4 separate regions of the Homo sapiens genome follow, and all the other regions are linked to region 1. The links are contacts of gene promoters, found by promoter capture Hi-C in blood cells and fetal thymus (Javierre and others, 2016). All regions are on one chromosome and are shown on one strand. The core of a region is centred on a gene start or on the middle of the fragment in contact, and the rest is flanking DNA. Distances in the headings are between cores, read along the strand shown. Region 1 holds the start of PSMD6-AS1 (PSMD6 antisense RNA 1). Region 2 overlaps SYNPR (synaptoporin). Region 3 overlaps SYNPR (synaptoporin). Region 4 overlaps SYNPR (synaptoporin).

Evidence for each region. Contacts are between HindIII fragments. The CHiCAGO score rates a contact against its expected background, and 5 or more counts as called.
Region 2: a contact is called between a fragment that was not itself captured here and the fragment with the promoter of PSMD6-AS1 in region 1, in 2 of 17 cell types (monocytes and M1 macrophages). The highest score is 7.7, in monocytes.
Region 3: a contact is called between a fragment that was not itself captured here and the fragment with the promoter of PSMD6-AS1 in region 1, in 9 of 17 cell types (monocytes, M1 macrophages, M0 macrophages and 6 more). The highest score is 17.2, in monocytes.
Region 4: a contact is called between a fragment that was not itself captured here and the fragment with the promoter of PSMD6-AS1 in region 1, in 1 of 17 cell types (M2 macrophages). The highest score is 5.7, in M2 macrophages.

The regions. Positions count from the first base shown.
Region 1 is chr3:64,010,576-64,013,264 of GRCh38, reverse strand. It overlaps PSMD6-AS1 (PSMD6 antisense RNA 1), which reads right to left and starts at 1,301. Exons shown (of 2, transcript NR_189168.1): 1 at 1,223-1,301. PSMD6 (proteasome 26S subunit, non-ATPase 6) reads left to right here. Exons shown (of 8, transcript NM_014814.3): 7 at 2,310-2,387; 8 at 2,501-2,689. The coding sequence ends at 2,597. PSMD6-AS2 (PSMD6 antisense RNA 2) reads right to left here. Exons shown (of 3, transcript NR_038286.1): 3 at 1,022-1,468. The HindIII fragment of the contact is 1,623 bases long and covers 575-2,197 here.
Region 2 is chr3:63,330,357-63,333,045 of GRCh38, reverse strand. The region is part of intron 2 of SYNPR (synaptoporin); the gene reads right to left. Among named protein-coding and RNA genes, the nearest start is that of SYNPR, 53 kb to the right of the region's middle. The HindIII fragment of the contact is 2,866 bases long and covers 1-2,689 here.
Region 3 is chr3:63,350,365-63,353,053 of GRCh38, reverse strand. The region is part of intron 2 of SYNPR (synaptoporin); the gene reads right to left. Among named protein-coding and RNA genes, the nearest start is that of SYNPR, 73 kb to the right of the region's middle. The HindIII fragment of the contact is 4,284 bases long and covers 1-2,689 here.
Region 4 is chr3:63,366,957-63,369,645 of GRCh38, reverse strand. The region is part of intron 2 of SYNPR (synaptoporin); the gene reads right to left. Among named protein-coding and RNA genes, the nearest start is that of SYNPR, 90 kb to the right of the region's middle. The HindIII fragment of the contact is 1,110 bases long and covers 770-1,879 here.

The DNA.
Region 1 (2,689 bases), core at 52-2,551:
ATGTCATGTCTGCCCCTTGCATTAACAGATGGGAAGATGAGTTGTAGTGAGGCTAAGTGATTTGTTAAAGGTCATTAGACCAGTTGTTATCAAAAGTTGTCTTCTGTTACTTCTTTGTAGACCACACTGCAGCTACGGTAATGACTCTTAGATCTGATATTTACAGTTGGTCATATTCCCTCTGATAATTCCTTCCAGTTTTTAGGTTGCTGCTGCAATTCTGGTCAGATTGGTTGTTAAATGTGGGACTTTTAGTACTTGCATCAGTGATTAAACAAATAAATACTTAATGAGCCATTCATTACTATATGTTTGGTATTGTTTTACAGCTCCCTTTTCACACTTTCATTGTAGTAGTAGGGAAGAGATGGCAAGGAAGCAAATAAATATAAAACGTAATTTCACATATAGAAATGAACCTATGGAGATGAGAAAATGCTATCCTTACGTACGGCATGCTTAAGGAGGTGAGGTTTGCTCTGAGATTTGAATTGAGAGGAGTCAGCCATATGGAGTCCTTCTGCGTGCAGAAAAGGGAATAGAAAAGGCTAAGGCTTTGAGCCAGGAATAAGCTTGGATGTTGTAGGAACAGAAAATGTCAGGGTGGCTCCAGCATAGTTGGAGTGGTAGGAGATTTTGAGGATAATATATGGAGAGTTAGGTAGGTAATGATTTGTGTAGGGCCTTGTAGGTCATGGGATGGAGCTTGAGTTTTAAGTAAGTTTGATAGGGAGCCATTGGAAGATTTAGAGCCCAAGTTACATGGTCCTATGCAGTGTCTTTATATAAGAAATAGAGTAAGGTGGCAGAGAGGACCAGTTGTGCTGTTTAGTAGCTCTTAGAGGAGATGTTACCGTGGCGTGGACGAGGGTGGTGAGAGTAGAGTTGGGTAGGAGACATACTCAATATGGGATGTCCAGATGGCATCTAGATCAGTGGCTCCCACATGTAGGTGTTTTTAAATGTTGATGATGGTGTTTTCAATGGTCTGCAGTGGAAACTTTAAATGAAGATGCATTTCTTTTAAATAAGACCATTCTCTTTCTAGTATTTTTTAAATTTCGAACATCCATAAAATTGTAAAGAAAGAATTGTACAGTACATTTTAACATATTTGCTTGTTACAATCTATACATTTTATGTTTTTTAACCACTTCAAAGTAAGTTTCAGACACCAACACATTTTTTAAATGATCCCTACCATTTTTTAAATGATCCCTACCAAAATGGAAGGCTGGTATCCCAAGGTTTTGTTCCATTTCTCAATTCTAGTCTGTGAAATTGAAGTCTGATGACCACTCTTAAGAGGGCTGTTCATTAGGGTGCGGGCTGGGCATTATGAGTGTGTTTTTCATGAGTCAGTGGAAGGAGGGGCTTGTTGTGAGCAGTGCATGAGAAAAACGGCTTGGCTTTGCTTCTTTTTCCAGCTCTGTGGCCTTGGTCAGGTTACGTCTCTTCAGTATCGTAACTGTAATGTGGAGATAAAGCCTTCATTAGTTAGGGGCACACACCGCAGTATTCCTTAAGTCATCTTGATGACAAGTGAATGCAAGGCAGCTGGTACCTTTCAGGTAGTAGTTGAATTCAGGTAGTATTTGTTCAGTTTTTTTTTTTTCCCTTCATGTTCTAAGACCAGCTTGAGAGGCAAAGGTTGTACCACTGAGCTCTAGTTGTTGTTACCTAAAAAGGCCTTGTTTTAAATTTCTGTGATACCTAAGAATTTCAAATCTGGGTTGTCATGGATTCTTTATTCTTTTTTTCTCCCTTAAAAAGTTACATTTTAGATGAAATCCCCTTTTTTAAAATGGGCAAAGCAATAATTCTACATCATTTCTCCCCTTCCCTTCCACTTGTTTAGACTAAGATATGTTAGAGAGGGAAAGGGTCGTTGTTTTAGTAAATACTATTGCTGTTGACATGTTAATACTATTGCTGTTGACATGTTTACTGATGGGCTGTGTTCCATAATTTTGTTTTAGGTCTTTTGTTTGAAACAGTTTACTGTTTTTATCAGTTTTGGTCCCTAATTTTTCCTAACCTACAGTTTTTCTCTGAGTACATATGGTTTCATTGTTTGATCTACTTTCTATCTATCTGAATATGAACTTCTAGGATCATGTTTATTCTAGTAGATGATGACTTAAAGCCTGCAGTATAGGAGGGACAACGTCAACTACTGCATGTGCAATAACAAGCTTGAAGGGAAGCTAAATGTTTGTTACAAATTTAAGACAGTATTTTAATGCCGTTTGCATTTTTCTAAGAATTTTCTATAAAGCTAATTCTGTTATTTTTTGTCTCTAAATTAGGGAACTGTCCAGGTTTATTGCTGCCGGGAGACTACACTGCAAAATAGATAAAGTGAATGAAATAGTAGAAACCAACAGGTACTCTCATTTCTCAGAATAAGGGGCATTCCTAAATTTTAAAAGTAGGTCAACTATTGTCATGGAATAATGTGACTGGTAAATAATTCATTTTTTCTTGAATTTATTTATAGACCTGATAGCAAGAACTGGCAGTACCAAGAAACTATCAAGAAAGGAGATCTGCTACTAAACAGAGTTCAAAAACTTTCCAGAGTAATTAATATGTAAAGCCATGTAACTAACAAAGGATTTGCTTTAGAGATAATTATTTGGAATTTTTATAGCTTACTTCACAATGTGCCCAGGTCAGCTGTATAAAA
Region 2 (2,689 bases), core at 53-2,552, 680 kb after region 1:
CTCAGCCAGTGATGATTTTTGTCTCCTAGGAGACAGTATCTGGAGACATTTTTGGTTGTCCAACTGGTGGCGGAGATGGGGCAGGGGGATGTATTACTGATATCTATGAGCAGAGGCCTGGGATGCCACTGCCATCCCACAAACTCAGGGCAGCCTCCAAACCAAGGGACCAGGCAGCCCAAAATGTCAACTGTGCCAACATTGATTAACCATGCTCTTGGATAATATAGACTAAAAAGAACCTTGCAGTCACACAGACTGAATTCAGATCCTTGATGCGTCACCAAATAGCTGGGTGACTTTGGGGAAGTCACTAAACCACTCTGGGCTTCAATTCACTGTTTATAAAACAGGGATGATGGAACCTATATTCCAGGGTTGTGCTTAAGACCAAATGATCGAAGAAGCCTGAGACATCAAAAGTGTTCAATAAATGTTTCATTATTATTAAGGTTAAAACCCATCCACCCATACCTTCTCTCTTCTCTCCCTTTCTTCCCTCCTTCCTTTCTTCCATAAATATACTGAGTAAGTAGTCTGTGCAAAGTACTGACCTAAAGTCTAAGGATGCAATAGGAGAAAGGGCAGATAGGGCAGATATATTTTGGCCCTCATGGAACTTACATTCTGATGTGAGACGCAGTCATTAATTGATCAGTTACTTCCGAAGTATAAACAAGTGAGCTGTACAAAGCCATGCAAGGGTAAAGGGATCAAACCTGAGGATGGAGGGTGGCAGAGCACAGTCAGGGAACACTTTCCTGTGCAAGGGAGGTTGGATCTGAACACACAGGGTGAGCTAGGGTAGGGAGTAAAGAGGGGTGAAGAAGAGAAAGCCAAGCCCAGGGAACTACAGCCTGAAGTTTCTGAGGCAGAAAGGAGCATGTGACTTCATAAAGTCCAATTATAAAACTCAGGCATCCTCCACACTATAGGTCTTCTTCTGAAATGTTTTTTCCAGATCTATATGCTCAGCATGTTTTGAAAGGAACATGCCTCAGAAAAGATGGAAGCATTGCCCCTCAAGAACTGCCTACCAGTCGAAGACAACTTTGGGATTCATAAAGCAACTGTTTTTAATCCCATCATTTTCAATTTTTCCCATCTAGCCTACTAGAAAGTAAATGCCAGAAGAGGCATATCAACTTATGCCTCTTCCAAACCTCAGCTCCTGGCACACAGCCTGGCACATTAAAACTCAGTAGATATTTGTTGATTTGTTGTGAGAAGTCTGAGGTCCACGGTCCAATTCTGTGTGACTTTAGAAAAGTTTCTGAACCTCTCTCAGTTTCAATTTCCTCATAAAGAAAGTGGGAGAGTGTACTAACAGCAGGTTCTTACTACTGGGCTGCTAATAGCAGGTTCACATCCTGTAAATAATTTTTTTAAGTTCCTCAAGTAAAAGTGTTAGCATGGACTTATATTTAAGCCCAAGCCCCTTCTAGACTACTGGCCTTTCAGAGTGGTCTTGGTGGAATGAGCTTCAAAGCGTTAGTATAAAGATACGTGAGCATTTAAGAAGAGAGGGTTATGGTATATTACTACTCTTCCTTTTGTTATTATTAGAGGAAAAGGAACAGAACAAACCAAATGGTTTAGCAGGATGAATTGGGACACAGACAAGAGGATTCTTGAAGAATTCTAAAGACTGCACTTGCTCATGAGCATCTAATAAACTCCTGTGGTTATGCTTTATTATCTAAAAGGCATTTATTTGTGGCTGCCTTAGAAGAATTCTGAAATGATAGTCCCAGAAGTATGTTGAGAGATCCTTTAATCCTAGAACGGCAATAGGTTTCATTTTCACCTGTAAACTCTGTTCAGTTTTAAGGTTGCCTGGATCAGTGTGTTGGGAAGAATCCTGAGGCTTCATCTAGATTTAAGGGACACATAATGCAATGATCAATTAGTGATGTCTGTCCTAGGCACAGTGTGGTCATAGTGGTGGTAATGATATATGTGCTGTGTATTTTCTGACCCTCATCTAGGCCAATACCTTCCTTACAATGATGATGAAGAATCAGAGTTCAGTTACCTGTACAAGTGTGAACTAGGTCTAGAGGATAAGATTAGTAGGTCTCTCTTACTGTTAATTTTTTTTGTCTGAACAGACAGTTTCATCGTAGAAACTTTTCTTCCTTATCTAATGGGGCTATTCATTACACGATTCTATAATGAGGTGGATCATCAAGAGCATCTGTTCCATTCCTAGACTCCCATAGCTAGCTCTTCAACTGCAAGTTATACAACCTTGGACAAGTCACTTAATCTCTCTGGACCTCAACTTTCTTATCTGTAAAACAGAAATAATAATAGTAACAATAATAATAATTCCTCTTTTATAGGGCTCATACATAGATTAAAGGAATTAAAACTTATAAAGTATTAAATTGTGACCAGTATATAAGAATATTTTATAAGTGTTTATCATCTCCTCTTTTTATCCCTACTTTGGTCAGAGCTTTTATTTAAGGACTGAGATGCACACTGAGAGAGAAATAGTCTCTCTCTTTCTGCGGTCTCAAGCAGGAAGAATCACTTAAACTTGAACCCGTGGCTGCATGAGGTGAGACTCTTTCTATAAATAAAAAAAAGAGGGGAGACAGAAAGGTAGATCCCCAATTACATCATTTAAAATACTTGATCCAGCCACAGATTGAGTAGGAATTTGAACATACATTTTAAAGTT
Region 3 (2,689 bases), core at 59-2,558, 660 kb after region 1:
TAATATATACAATTATTATTTGTCAATTAAAATAAAGTTAAAAAGACAAAGTGATATGGTTTAGCTCTGTCCCCACTCAAATCTCATGTTGAATTATGGCTCCCATAATTCCCACATGTCATGGGAGGGACCCGGTGGGAGGTAATTGAATCATGGGGGCAGGTCTTTCCGGTGCTGTTCTCATGATAGTGAATAAGTCTTAGGAGATATGATGGTTTAACAAAGGGGAGCTCCCCTACACATGCTTTCTTGTCTGCCACCATGCAAGACATCCCTTTGTTCTTCCTTTGTCTTCCCCCGTGATTGTGAAGCCTCTTCAGCCATGTGGAACTGTGAGTCAATTAAACCTCTTTCCTTTATAGATTACCCAGTCTCGGGTATTTATTTATTAGCAGCATGAAATGGACTAATACATAAAGGATTCTCCATTGTTTCTGCAAACCTAGGTGCCTGAAGTATATTTGGGTCTTGTTCATCAATGTCCCCTTTTTTCTATTTGCTTCCCAGTTGCCTTTTAACAAATTCTCTGTTTACATCAGTTAGCTGGAACTGAATTCTGTTGCTTGTAGACATAGAACCTTAACAGATAAATAAGTGTTTTCCCAAGAGGTGATCTGTGGACTACTTGCATCTGAACCATCGAGCTTTATGATACTGATCCACAGTCCTCACTATAGGCCTCTAAATCAGATTTTCCAGCCGAATCTGCCGGTTTGAAAAGCTCCTCAGGAGATTCTTTTATTCACTTCGAGAACTGGGTGAGAGGATTTTCAAGAATCCTTCCCACATTAAAATTCTAAAATTGTACAGGAAAAAAAAAGAACAGCTCCTTGCAAGCCTTCAAGTCTTGATGATCAACTCCTGCTCACCTCTTTGGCCGCATTTCCTATCCCTCTCCCCTCAGTGCACACCACACCCCAGCTTTACTGGCATTCTCTCTGTTTCCACCCCAGGACCTTTGGACTTACTGTCCTCTCAGCCTGGCACTCCCTCCAAGGTCTTCACAGGGCTGGCTTCTTCCTTTCCTTCAGGTCGGCTCCCCAGAGAGCAGGTTTCATATTTTCCATCCCACATTGCCCCACAGCACCCATGCTGCCGATCCTAGCATCTTAGCAGTTCTCACTGTATGAGTCGATTATCATTCATTCTTTAGCAGTTCTCAGTATCTGAGTCAATTATCATTCATTCTTTCACTACTTCTTTTATCTCTCCCCCACTTAGAACTTCTTAAGTTCCAGGACAGGAAGAATGGGCTTTATCTTGTCACCACTCCATCCCCGTTGCCTGGAACTTTACTTGTGACATAGCAGGCAGGTTCTTAGCAAATATTATTCAGTAAATGAAATCTATAAATCTTAGATAATCTTTGAACGTTATCCTACATATGCTATTACTATAAAAGCAGTCTGAGAGTAATAAAACCAAATGTCACATTTACCTTCAGGAATTTGTCATCTCAGATAACATTCCTCAGTGTTATCACCCACTGCTCCCAAATTTGATCTCTATTGCCTGAAAAACTAAAAAGAGCTACTGTTTTAATTTCAATTTCCTTGTCTAAGGAAAACCTGGCCTAAATTTTCTTAAAGCAACAAAGAACCAAGAATCTTTGCTTCTTGGAAACGGGAAAGCGAGCTAGAATGATTCCCTACTAGGGTGCACTCACACTTGATTTGAAAAGCACACGTACCCTCTACTGGAAGTATGCAGTATTGCAACTTGAACTCAAACTGTCAAACACATTAAGCAGGGAATGTCAAATGTCCTGTTACCCCTGAAACTGGATGAAGTAAGCAGAGGAAAAGAGCAACACAACAACAAATAAATGAGCAGTACTTATGGTGCTTATCTGTTCTGAGGGTTAAATCGGCCAAGATCAATTGGGCGGATCACTCAGAATTCTGGCTTCTGAGATGTTCAGTGCATTTCCTCCTGTAAAACCAACGAAGATCAGGGACAACTGTTCACTTTAGGACAGTCTACTACGTAAATAGGACTAACTAGAGAAAAAAAATGCAAGAAAGCATAATGTCTGATAAGGGGCACACAGTCAAGAGAGTGAGGATATGACCTAAATGGAACCCAACTGAGGGTCAGATTCCTCATTGGTAAAACAAGGAAAGGATTTAGAATAAGTAACCATAAAGGAGCTGCACCTTGAACAGAGGTCGAGAAGTCACTAACTGATGGGCTCGGGGGCCAATTCAAGCTATAGACATGATTTGGCCCAACTATTAATTGGGAGGGACAAGGGTTCTCCAGTTTGCTACAGCATGTTTGTCTGTCTCCCCTGCACATACATGTATATTTCTGATTGTGGTGTCCATAGCAAGTGCAAGTGTCATTTCCATTTAGCACACTGCTGATTTTCTAACAGCCAGCCTGCTTTATGCACTCATTTTATTTGCCTGTTCCCTGCAGGCATTTGACTTACACTTTTGCCTAGTCCCTTTGGCTGTTTTGCATAATAGTGCAGTGTCTCTTCTCTTCACTGCAAAGTGCATGTGTGCATATGCACGCACACACACACTACACACACATACACAGGCATACACACACAGCTTTAGCAATATGGCTTTTCTTTCTCCTCCTATCACGATATAGTCTGAAGTCCCACTTGCAAAAAAAATATGAAGAAGACAGAGCTGTTCATCACTTGATCTCAATCCCCAGCACAGGGCTTGTAGCA
Region 4 (2,689 bases), core at 75-2,574, 640 kb after region 1:
AAAATGGAAAATTGATTCCATCTTACGAAGCTTGAACACCAGGTTCCAAACTTTAAAGCATTGGATTGGTGCATCCAGTGGGAAAACACAAATATTAAAATGTTTTAGAAAAGTAAAAGATAAAGAAATATCACATAGCTTATGTTATTTGGCCATAAGCATTTAATTGTTTTAACTTTTCAATTGATTTTATGTTGTTTTTGCAGGTACATATATTCTCTGAGATCTACTTTCCCTATACTGGGTGCTCCTCTTTCCACACTTAACCCCCTCCTCCATTTTGCAGACTCTATCAGTTTGCTCAGGCTGCCAAGGCAAAATGATTTTGACAACAGAACTTTATTTTCTCAGAGTTCTGGAGGCTGGAGTCCAGGATCAAAGTGTCAGCAGAGTTGGATTCTCCTGAGGTCCCTGTCCTTAGCTTGCAGACAGCCACCCTCTTGTTGCCTCTTCACATGGCCGCCTTTTGTGCATGCATGTTCCTGGTGTCTCTTTCACTTCCTAAAAGGACACCAGTCATATTGGATTAAGTTCCCACTCTAAGGGCCTCATTTTAACTTAAACTCCTCTTTAAAGACCTTACCATTAAATACAGTGACATTCTGAGATATTGGGGGTTAAGACATCAAATTGTGAATTTTGCAGACACATGATTTAGCTCATAACACAGACCATGAGTACAGAGGATTTATTTCTCCCTATCTTGACAACAACAGCATCTTCATGTAAGGTGTCCTTCTCAACTCTAAGAAATGTCCTTGTTGAAGCTTTGTTTGAATGTCTATCAACAACACAATCACTTGTCAAATCTTCACAATCTGACTTGAAGCAACACTGTATAAATAAAATACCTCTTTCCAAAACTGTCAATAAACTTCTTCAGCCAAAATCAAAGGCCATTTTTTTCATTCTATCTTTCCTGGTTCAGTCTGTAGCACTGCACACCATCACTGCCACCTCTGATTGAAAATATGATCCTTCCTTAATGACCATGGCTTTATACTCCACAGAACTCTTTGTTATTCCTTCTCCTAATTTTGCTTCTCTGAGGTCCAGATTCACTCGTCTGGCCTGTTCCTTCCCCATTAATCTTAAGAAAATCTTGTCCCTTTAAGTAACTCAATCATCGCCTTTTTCACAAGTGACCCTGCAGTGACATCTCCAGACTTGAATTGCCTCAGAACTTGGGTCTTTTACATCCAACTTGAAGCTCTTCATCTTCAATTTTCTCAACTGGAACTCAGCATATGCAACATCACATTCCTCTTTCATTCAAACTAGCGCCCTTTCTTGCACTCTTTCTCTGCTTCCCTGTAGGACACTCAGCTCAAAGCCTGGCATTACCACTGGTCACTCATTAATGTATTATCCAAGTATTTACTGAACCTCTGCTGGGAAGCAGACAATGTGCTAACCAAGGCAGATATCTGTGAATGAAACGTGCATAGTTCTCAGCTTTGCAATTGCTCTTGGTCCAGGCAAACACCTCTCTCTTTGATGCTCCATAGCCTGTCACTAAATTCTATAAATCCTCCTTCTAAACATCATGCAGGCTCATCTCTACTTTTTAAAAATTTCTTGCTGCCAAAATCAATGTCTCGTTTCTCAATACATCAGTTTTTATCACACTGAGATTGCTGTAATAACCTCTAAACTGATCCTATGCCCCTAATTTCCATTTTACTTGATCCTTACCACCCAATCTCTGTAGAATATCACGGCAATACTAACCTTTAACTACTAGTATTATCACTGTCACTTCCTGCAGAAAATCATCAGTGATTGTGCTTGCCCTCTTAAAAATAAAATCCAAACTTCAGATCTGGGGAAATGGGAAGAAACATGTAGGTGTGAGTTATTATTTTATTACTTAAAAGCTTTATGTTCCCAGGAAAGTCACTTACCATCTCTGGGCCTGTTTCCCTAGTTGAAATATTAGTATTAAAATTGGTAACTAGCTCATGAATTATTTAAATTATAATTCAAGGCCAGATGCAATAGCTCACACCTGTAATCCTAGCACTCACTTTAGGAGGCCGAGGCAGGCAGATCACCTGAGCTCAGAAGTTTGAGACGAGGCTGGGCAACATGGTAAAACCCCATGTCTACCAAAAATCTAAAAATTAGCTGGGCATGGTGCATGTTCCTGTAGTGTCAGCTACTTTGGAAGTTGAGTTGGGAGGGTTTGAGCCTGGGAGGTGGAGGGTGCAGTAACCCGAGATCGCAGGACTGCACTCCAGCCTGGGAGATAGAGCCAGATCTTATCTAAAATTAAATAAATAAATAAATAAATAAATAAATAATTCAACAGTGATGCTTAGAGGATATTTTCCAAACTTCAGAATGTACTGTATTTATGTAGGAGTCTTTCTCTAACTCAACACTCTGAATTTTTACAAGATTCTCACTTATAAATTCAAAGTTCTACTTGGTATTATAAAATATAAAATTACTCCTTACTTTCCCCAGTGGGCCTGGATAATATCTCAACAATCTCAAATTTGCTGGGGAGTTTGTAACCCCAAAAGTGCTAGGAGATCCATCTTGAAGTTTCACATCTGGCCTAGAATTTCCAGGTATGCCCACAAATTATAGACAAAAGGCAAAATGGTATTTGTCCATTTTAAACATATAGTGTGCATAGCTCACAGGGTTGTTATGAAGGATACTGGCACACACTATTGCTACT